Linked DNA regions of Homo sapiens: region 1 is linked to region 2. Evidence: promoter capture Hi-C in human tissues and cell types (Jung and others, 2019). All regions are on one chromosome and are shown on one strand. The core of a region is centred on a gene start or on the middle of the fragment in contact, and the rest is flanking DNA. Distances in the headings are between cores, read along the strand shown. Region 1 overlaps MYLK (myosin light chain kinase). Region 2 holds the start of MYLK (myosin light chain kinase).

Evidence for each region. The method cuts DNA at HindIII sites, captures the fragments that hold promoters and counts their contacts. A contact is called where the count stands out against the background at its distance.
Region 1: a fragment that was not itself captured here is called in contact with the fragment with the promoter of MYLK in region 2 in 2 of the 25 tissues and cell types used here (mesenchymal stem cells and thymus).

What each region holds. Positions count from the first base shown.
Region 1 is chr3:123,714,416-123,719,564 of GRCh38, forward strand. All of the region lies in intron 13 of MYLK (myosin light chain kinase), which reads right to left. It overlaps LOC105369194 (a long non-coding RNA gene), which reads left to right. Exons shown (of 3, transcript XR_924417.4): 3 at 1-1,985. Among named protein-coding and RNA genes, the nearest start is that of MYLK-AS2, 27 kb to the left of the region's middle. The HindIII fragment of the contact is 3,875 bases long and covers 1-3,770 here.
Region 2 is chr3:123,881,607-123,886,797 of GRCh38, forward strand. MYLK (myosin light chain kinase) reads right to left here and starts at 2,726. Exons shown (of 34, transcript NM_053025.4): 1 at 2,600-2,726. It also overlaps a transcript of CCDC14 not described here. RefSeq lists a silencer at 2,606-2,765. The HindIII fragment of the contact is 8,771 bases long and covers 1-5,191 here.

The sequences.
Region 1 (5,149 bases), core at 583-3,082, 170 kb before region 2:
TGGCCTCCTTCTAGCATCATCCTGGTTTAAGGACCAGGGTCTGAGGCAAGAGGCCCCCAGTGACAAGGTTGTCTCAGAGAGCCCAAGACTTCTTCGTCTTGGGAGGACACCCACTGGCCATGGCACACAAATAGCAAGGGATGCTTTGCTGAGACCCAGTGACAGACTTGCCCAGCTCAAATGGGGCCAAACTAAATATACCCCGGGTTTCCCCACAGCTGTGCTTCCTGCTGCTCTGCTGAGACTGAGCCCAGAGAGGGCCTTCTTTCTGGAGTGCAGAAAGGGCTGAGTCTCCTTGCTTTCCTTGCCTAGGATTAAGGATCTAAAGTGCATTTATCTGTTGCTCTGTTACTTGGTATTAGCCAATTCACTCCTGGACTCAGTCATTAAACTGCCACTGTCCCATTTTGACAGAATGGAAAAGGATTGATCGGGCTGTCGTCCAATGGGAAAGACAAGCACAATGACTAAGAATAAGCCCAAGCAGATTGCTGACAAGTAAAAACGATGCCATGTAGACGAAGCTGTTAATAGGACTTAAGAAAGAGCAAGAATGGAGAAAGGGAAGAACAGAGAGAAGAGAAAGAAAAAGAGGCAATGTGAGGAAGAGAGAGGGGGAAAAGGGAAGCAAAGGAAGGGGGAGAGAATGAGAGACAGACAGATATACGCACTCTCCCCTTTATGATTCTACTGACCCATGGAGTTTTTCCGTCCTTGCCATTTTGGCTGTTTTTGACTCACTAGAAGTTGTTTTTGAAGCCAGTTCCTAGTCATGAAACTAAACATGAAATGATCGCTCTGGTGAAGCAAAAGCATCAAACAAATGACCTATCAGGATCCAAGAGCAGCCATGCAGAAAGCCCATGGGCTGAAGCAGGTGGTGGCCTGGTGCTGCTGCTGATCACCTGGACTACTGTGGGCAGCTGACATCACCTCCTGAGCATCACTTTCTTCATCTGTAAAGTGAATTCGGAAGTGTCAAGTGGAGTTGTTGTGAGAATTAAATAAAACAAGCCAGCTTTTCTAGCCAATTAGACTTTCCTATCAAACAATTCCTTCTTAAAAACAAATTGATAGTGGTTTTACTTTAAAAACCTAATATAAATTGATACCCAACATGGCGTTTTGGAAAGCTTTTATTTAGAGGAAGAGTTAGGAGCAGTTTGCTACCTCTTGCACTAATTCTTCTTATAAAATAACCAGTAAAGCCTCTTCTTCAAACCCAGCACCAGGAGTGAGGCCTTTACCTCCTCTAGGACCTGACACTAGGAACCCACTGTTGCCTTTGTCCTGGTGGCTGACCAGGATCTGCCATCTCCTTCTGCACTACAATAATTCTCCTGTCTTCCCTTCACAGCCCTTCCTTTTCTTTCCGTTGTTTTAGTAGGAAAAACAACTAAATTCTGAATTTCTCCTTATAAGTGTGTTTTTCTACCTGCCAACATTTGCTGGTCAACTTGCTACTTTCTGAAGCCCCAAGGTCCTGGATCCAAATTTGCATTCAACACATGTTTGCCTTAATCTTGGATCTACCAAATATTTTCCTTAGGCTTTGAACATGAGCTGTATTCCTTAGTTATTACAATGCAAAATGCCATTCCAACAGCAATTCTGATTCACTCCAAACCCTGTTATACTATGGAAATTCAACAGATCACCAATTGAGGGGGCACCATGGAAGCACAGTGCCCCCATCTTTCTTTATTTGGAGTTCAAAATCCAGCATGGTCCAGGGATCACCACCAGCCTCCTCCTTTCCCTAAATTCCAGGATTGTTAACTCTGGAGGATTCATCAAAGAAGAGTTACATTCTCCCTGCTGACACGCCACACAGCCCCTTCCCATTTCCAGGGGGTTTGTGCAAGCTGTAAATCCCCGGGGCATCTGAATTCCCCTTAAACAAAAGTCTGTCTCCTAACCAAACAGAACCTTCTTGAAGTCAGCAAAATGGCTACTTTGTGGCATTAAAAGGATTTTTCCTCCCATAGCCTTGTTTTCTTTTGGCCTCCCTTCCTCCCAGAACTTAAGAAGCAAATGGGAAGAGAAGTGTGCGAGGAAAAGAATGAAAGGAACAATGACGTATAATATCCCAAAAAAGATCTCTGACCAGTAATGATAGGGTTGCTAGCTGGGAAGCAAGGATCACTGAAACCACAGCCTTTCCACTGTCTTAGAAGCTATAATCACACTCTAAACATAAAGGTATGGCATCCAAACCACCCACTGTTCCCTCCCAGTGCGGGCCTGGAAGCCACACTCTCAGTTACACTGTCATCACATGGGTCACATTTTGCCACTAGGAGCTCAATCCTGCGATTCTGGATAGCATTCTTGATCTGGGTCTCTATGTAATTATGACTGACTATGGGCTGTAGAGGTGGAGAGTTATAAAGCTCTATAATGGCCCTATTAGTAAAATGAGGCTCAAATTCTATGGCATGGGCACAAACGTACATGTATATGCTCAGAAGTCTTTCTGTAACACAAAGAACCCATGTGGTACACAAACCCAATTCTGTACTCAACCTACATAAAATGAAAATATTGGTTATAAATTTTAACATGTAATTAATTGCTTGCCTTCTTACAGTTTAAAGGCTTGTGGACAGATGTTTTGAATAAACTAAGCTTCTTAATATATATAAAAAAGGCAAGTTAAAACTGGTATTTATTCTTCTTCAATATATTTTTCTGTAGCCAATGTAAGTATTTAAGAAGTTGTCAGTGTTTTTAAGCTTGAGGAGGTCAGGATCCATACGTTATGTTAACTGGATAGATTGTATAGTGTCCAAAGTACCTGTGCATAACCAGGGAAGACAAAGGAGGTGGCTCCAGGCTGCCCCGCAGAGTGCCTGGTATTAATCTGAAAACAAACTGTGCCTCTACTCATTGCCAAGCAAACGCTGACTTCACTGATGCCTGTTGTCTTCATTAGAAGCTCTGCATCAAAACAAATACTCTAATAAATATGCTTGTTATATTTTATTATCTATTCTAGAGATGATCTTTTCATCTTTTTAACCTACCCACATTTTATGTCCTTAGATGCCTTAAACAGGCCCACTAGGCCTTCAGTTAAATAAACAAACCGTTAGGCTGAGAAACTATGTCAAATGGGCACAACTGGCAGGCTATTAATAAATCTAGACACTTAAGAATTTTAGCCTTGATGGAGATACTCCAGGGGGAAAAAATTTTAAATATTCTAGCCCAAGGAAGCCCCCAGCAATGACTCAGTCCAAACGCTGTGAAATATATACTGTATTTCAGATATTCCTGGGCTCTGCAGGAATTTGAATTAATCATCCTGGATCAGGACTCATCCTGGGTCAGGAGGAAAGACATTCATTGCTTGGTTAACTATTGGGGAATTTTTTTTCCCTAGCCTGTGTTGGGGAAAGAAGGAATATTTGTTGAGGGACTCTTTTTTTTTTTTTTTTTTTTTTTTTTTTTTTTTTGAGACAGGGTCTTGCTCTGTCATCCAGGCTGGAGTCCAGTGGTGTGATTACGGCTCACTGCAACTGCAGTCTCGACCTCGCAGGCTCAAGCAATCCTCCTGCCTCAGCCTCCTGAGTAGCTGGGACTAGAGGCATGGGCCACCACTCCCGGCTAATTTTTGTGTTTTTTGTGGAGACGGTGTGTTGCCGTGTTGCCCAAGGTGGTCTCGAACTCCTCGGCTCAAGAGATCCACCTGCCTTGGCCTCCCAAAGTGCTGGGATTACAGGCATGAGACACTGTGCCTAGCCCTGTTGAGGGACTCTTGAAGGTAATTTGCAGATTTCCTGCACACCCTAATGGGCACTGAGCCCCCAGAAAAGCGAGGAATTCTAGGGAATGCCTCCCTGCACTGCAGGGGAGGTTCGGCAACCTCTGTGCTCTCATCCATTCAGGGAATGCATGCTCCCATGGCAGGCCTGGCTCTACACACAGTATGACGTGATCCCTCCCTGCAGGGAGCTTACAGTGTGGAGAGGAAGATAATTAAGCAAGTAGAGTAAAATGAAAGTGAATTTTCACGGAGTAAATTGTTTTCTCCTCTCCTCCAGAGGCCTGGAATGGTGAGCCCCCGCATTCTGAACTCACTTTCTATCACACTGCCCCGTCTACTTTGCTGCAGCCACAGAGGCTGCTGTCTTGCTACTCCTCGAATGGGTCAACCTTGCTCCTGACTCAGGGCCTTGCACTTGCTGTGCTGCCCACCTAGAGCTCTCTTTCCCCAGGCCATGGACACCTCTGAGGCTTCCTCACAGCACTAAAGATACACCCTCTCACCCTCCTCGATTCACACACCCCACTCACTGGCTTTTTCTCTTTATAATTATTCCTTTGTGACCTGCTCATGTTCTTAACAGCACGTGCCAGCATTTGAAATGAGGCCAGGTGCTGACTGCTGCTGGCATCCTCATCAGAACGTAAGCACCCTGCAGGCAGGGCCCTCAGCTGTCCTGTCTACTGCAGTTTCCCCAGAACAATGCCTGGCACTGATCAATATAGGCGCGCAGTAAAGACTTGTTGATAAGTAAGTGTAATACTAGAAGCACACGGTGTTCAGGGAACGCATTCTGGGGTGATTAGGGTAGGCTTCCCAGAGAAAGTGACATTTGTGGGAGTTTCCAGGATTTGGAGAAGAAGAGAGTCACTGAGGAGGGAAGGCAGAGAAAGCATGAAGGGCTGGCTGCAGAAATCGCGTCTGAGGGCTGCACCAGCAATCTCGATGATTGCAAAATCTCGGCAAAAGGCGAGAGGTGAGAAAGAGCCCCTGCATCTGGCCTTTGGCACGGTATCTGCTGAGCTCTCAGAATAAGCTTGCTTGCAGCAGAGCTGCCCCTCAACCACCCCCGAGAGAAGACAACTGGAGGGACACGCGTTGCTGCATGGTGCCACCTTGTGGCCAGAGCCCTTGGAAGCAGGCACGAGTGTTCATGGCTTGTGTCTGGCTGGACACCTCCCTCCTCTGATTCTCTGATGGCCAAACAAACACACAATACTGTAGCAAAGTGGATCCTTTGGGAAAACCCCTCCTCAGTCTTGGCATTTGTAAGGATTGTATCTTGTTTAAAGGTGGGCTCTGCTGGACAATCATAATCACAGCACATACCTATGGAGGGTGTGTGCTATCCTATGCTCTGGGGATACTTTGCACATTCAT
Region 2 (5,191 bases), core at 1,476-3,975:
TACCCATGTCCCCAAGCAAGGCTGCATTCTGAAACCCCCACCCCACCTTATGAACTTCCTAAAAGACAGACAAGCCAACTAGTTGTGTTTCAAACTCTAGGCTCATCTTATATTTTGAGGATAAAAGCAAGGGGTCATTCTCAAAGACACTGAGTATATGGTGACCCCAGCGCATTCACAATCTATGCCTCTGAGACCAGCAAAGATCTCCCTAGCCAGAGACCCAGAACCTTTCCCCACCCTTGGAACTCAAAGGCCTCTCCCCTCTGCACCATCTGGGTCACCTCCTTCTCTGACAAGCCTTCTCAGCAGATTACCCCCGCCACCTGCCAGCCAGGAGCCCCTCCTCTGCAGTGACTGTAGCTGTCTGTCTACCATTTTCAGGCAGCAGGTGGGGCCACCTGGCCTTACCAGTTAGCCTAGGAATGTTCCAAGGCCTAGTCTGCTCTGCATATGTTTTCTAAGATCTGGCCCCTGGGGAAGCAGCCCCTGATGAAGGGGTGAGCAAACCTCACACAAACAGCAACTACTCTGGCTGGGTGCAGTGGCTCATGCCTGTAACCCAGCACTTTGGGAGGCAGAGGTGGGCGATCACTTGAGCCCATTAGACTAGTATGGACAACATGGTAGGACCCCATCTCTACAAAAAATCCAAAAAACTAGCCAGGTGTGGTGGCACACACCTGTAGTCCCTGCTACTCAGGAGGCTGAGGTGGAGGATTCCTTGAGCCTGGTAGGTCAAGGTTGCAGTGAGCTGAGATCACGCCACTGTACTCCAGCCTGGGCAACAGAGCCAGACCCTGTCTCAAAATAAAAAATAAAAATAAAAATAAGACAAGGAAACATCTACAATGCTGCAGCTACCCTCCTCCTCAGCTAGCCAGTTATTACACAAAAGAAACTGAACATGGGAGATAAACCAGCATAAATGCTTCCCCACTGTGGGGTGGTTCTCCAAGCTCATGCTTAGCTGCAAATGAGGTCCAGCATCCTTTGTATCATCAGTGAACAATGAGACAGACCTGCACATCTTGGCAAAAAAAGCTCTTGTGCATGTCCCCAGAGTACCCGCTACCCAATCCAGCATCCAGAGTCCAACCACTCCGGACCCAGGACCAACTGCTCAGGTTCCTCCCAGACCCAAGGCTCCTGGCCCACTGAGAGTGGGAGAAAAAGGGGTAACCTCACTCTGGGCAGGAAGGAAAATTCCATGCTGCCCTAGAGCACTGTGGTGCCAGCAGCATCATCCTCCACAGTCCCACAGTGTGCAGGCGGGGAAGAGACTAAGAGAATCACGGAAGAGAGAAGGAGGTCAAGAATTTAAGAGAAAAGAAAACAGTTCTATTAGAACCCTAAATGCCTTGTAGGAACCTAGTAAAGTCACCAGATGCACCTACACTTCTCCCAGAGACTTGCATTGTTGATTCCTGATTCTTTGAAGTGTGGGCGGGGTTCCCCAAATGGTCCTCCTAAGCCCACCATCTGGAAATAATTTATTGATAAGTGCATTTTGACAAAAAGTATTCCATTCAGGTGGAGAAGAACACAGCCTCTCTTGGAAGGGGGATGCAGCTCCAGGGCAGGCTCTCAAAGGCTGTGGGGTGGGCGGGTCATTGCATATACTCTGGTCTTTGCACTTGGGGAGAGGAGGGATGGTAAAAACCAACGGCCTGAGGTCTGGCATCATGCCCACTGCCCAGGTGTTTCCCTACACCCACCCAGCTCCCTGAATCACAACAGCTAATTTTACTCCCTCTAGACTCTAGTAGAGCTGGGTCTTCTCCTTCTGGCTACGAAATAGAAAGTGCCCCGCACCCCAACACACACACCCCAATCTAAAAAAAATATATATCCTTGAAACCATTTCCCCATCAGCCCATCTTCACATCTGCAATGCCACTCCTAGAAATTCAGTCCTTTGGGTCTTGAAGGGTTTTAGTTCCATAAGTTCCAGGGAGGGGTCTACCTCAACCATTGACAACTCACATCTCCTGAGAAGTTTATCCAAAACTTTCCAACTGCAATCATCGGCGAACAAGGTCCCTCAACAATGGGACCCCAGTTAACGCGAAGGAGGCAGAGCGAGGTAAGGAGCTTAAATGAGGAGTATGGAGTAGGAACAAGTCTGCAAAGCCCGCGCCCCAGCTTCGCCTGGGATGGCCAGGTCTGGCACTCGCGGGCCGCCTTCCCCGCCCTACCTTCCCGGAATCACATTTGGGCTGGAAGGACCTTCACGTGGCACCCCCTTCCCAGAGGCCGTCACCGAGTCCTCTAGCGAGGGTCTGGGAGCTGGGAGAAGGGTCCGCTTCTCCTCCGCCCCTCAAATCAAAGGCACCCCCTTCGGATGATTCCTAGAAAGGCAATCGCATCAGTGTCCCCAAGCACTTCATCTCCCCAAAAGAAAACTCGTGCAGCCTGGCGTCACTGGGGTCGTCTCCTTACGCCCCTGACTCCTCGCCGCACCCCGGGGCCCCTCTCCATTAGGGGAGTCGGGAGGCACAGACGGTGGGGGTCCCAGCCCCCACCCAGAACTCCCACCCTCGGAGCCTTGACTTCCAGGGCCCGCGCCTGGACAAAAGCATGGGGCGGGCTCACTCACCCGCGCGGCGAAGGCGGCCCGGGAGCCGGGGCACCGGCGCTCGGCGGGGCGCCCCGGCCGCAGGCGCACAGCGCGGGCTCCGAGCTCGCTCAGCGCCCTGCTGCCGACCGGGCGGCGCGGGGAGCCCGCGAGGCGCGTCCGGGACTGGGCAGGGCGGGGCGGGGCGGGGCGGGGCGGGGGTGAGCGAACCGGCGAGAGAGAGAGCAAGTGGGAGAGCGGAGAGCGGACGCGCGCTGAGGAGAGCGAGTGAGAGCGCGGCGCTACGGGGTCAGGACTCAAACCACCCGCTCCAGCCCCCATGCACTGATTTGCATGACATTTGCATAGCGCTCGGGGAGTGGACCTGCTGCCCTTCCCGCCACGCCCACCCGCCTTCTGCCTCGGAGTCCGGAGCGGAGAATCCGCAGCCAAACCTAGCGCCAGACCCGGGCCCCCCTCGCACTTATCCTGCACCGCCCCAGTTAACTCCTCGCAGGCGGCGGTCAGCGGGCTGGTACTGTCTTGGTGCGTGTCTTAGTCCTACACTGGGAGACCTAGGCCTTAGGTCGGGGTCTGATGCTAGCTTCGTGAGCGTGCATGAGACACTGGCTGCCTCTGGGCCTCAGTTTTCTAATCTGTAAAATGAAGATGTCAGCGGAACCATGGGGCTAAAGTTTTAGTGCTGGAAGGTTGTCTATGTAGTTTTTTTCAGACATCCTCCAGTGGTGCAACTCAGCCCCATGGTTCCTCTGACATCCTCCCTTTGTGTGTGTTAAGAATCTCTCATTGGTTTGGAAGATACCTACAAAGTTCTTTAAATTAAAAAAGGGGAAAGGGGAGGGGGGGGAGGGGAGGGGGAGGAGGTGTTTCTGGTTTTGGCTTGCTTTATATTTAGTTTGCACCCAATATGAAATATTTTATAGCTTCTGATCTCTTCACTTGGACCTTCTTTTGTTTTTTTTAAAAAAACTGTTTACTGCAGGTTAAGGAGTGTTTTTAAAAATTTTTTAATTGTAAAATAAAACATAAATACAGAAAACCACAAAAAACAAATATATAGATATATAGACTAGTGAATTATTATAAAGGGAACATCCTTGTAATCACCACCTGGATCAAGAAATAGAACTCTGCCAGCCACCCCAGGAGCCTCTCCATGTGCCCTACCTCAATGACAACCCCCTTTCTCCCTCCTCCCAAAAGTAACCACTAACCTGACTTTCATGTAGTCACTTCTGCTGCTTTTGTTTTTCTTGGTATCTTCCAAGGGTGCACCTTACCCCTCCCCCCACTCTTTTTTTTTTTAATTTGATTTGCCTTTTCAGTCTTTTCCTTACAATTATTTGTTAAATAACTTAAGCCCTTGATCTGTGAGGTTTTCCAGAGTCTGGGGGTTGCACATTCATGAGGCAATTCAGCATGTTTCTCTGTCCTCTGTATTGACAGCAAGTTGGCAGCTGATCCAGGGTCTTCCTCAGACTGAAGTTTGATGTCTTTTGTAAGATTATAGATGGTTGTGTGTTCTTTTCTTCAAGAGGTACATGATCATGATGTCTGGTGTTTGCTCTTTTTTGAGGTTAACAGCCGTCGATGCTCAATTCCTAGATTCATTAATTAATTGAAGTTTGCAAAATCATGGTATTCTAATAATTTTGTTTTCATTTATTAGTTCATAAGTGGATAAGGAGATGCTTCCTCTCATCTACTATTTGATTACCCTGAGATAGGAAAGGCACGATGAATACCTGCTTTTTTTTAAAAAAATTACCCAGTTTTCAAGTTAAGGAATTGATTCTCTGTCATTCTTAGATTTCTTTAATATCATTATAAATTCATGAATTTAAATATATTTGATAGGTTTCCATCTACGATATTAGAGCTCAAATTGTCCCATCTTTGGCCAGTAGGAGCTTCTTCAATATGGCTCCTGGCTCCTTTTGATAAGATTCTAGTAGTCTTTTTTTTTTTCTCTCTCTCTCTCTCTCACTAGTGTGCAAAGAGCTTCAAAGACCCTAGAAGTCTTTGATAGCTTCCTTGCTATCTGATATGACAAGATGTTCCAGGCACATCTGTACATTTGCTGCCTCAAACCTGGAATCAGCCATTTCTCCAAGAAGCTCTAGTTTTTTTGTTTTTTCTTTCCTTCCTTCCTTCTCTCTCTCTTTTTCTTTCTTTTTTTCTTTCTTTCTTTCCTTCTTTCCTTCTTTCCTTCTTTCTTTCTTTCTTTTCTTTCAGATGGAGTCTCACTCTGTCACCAGGCTAGAGTGCAGTGGCACGATCTCGGCTCACTGCAACCTCCACATCCCTGGTTCAAGGGATTCTCCTGCCTCAGCCTCCTGAATAGGTGGGATTATAGGCACGTGCCACCACACCCAGCTAATTTTTGTATTTTTAGTAGAGACGGGGTTTCATCATGTTGGCCAGGATAGTCTCAATCTCTTGACCTCGTGATCTGCCCACCTCGGCCTCCCAAAGTGCTGGGATTACAGGCATGAGCCACCCCGCCTGGCCAGAAGCTCTAGTTTCTTTTGTTGAAATTTTAAGATAACAATATGAGCACTAGGAGTATTCATTGTTACTAGGTTGGTAACTGTTTCTAGGCCTTTTCAATAG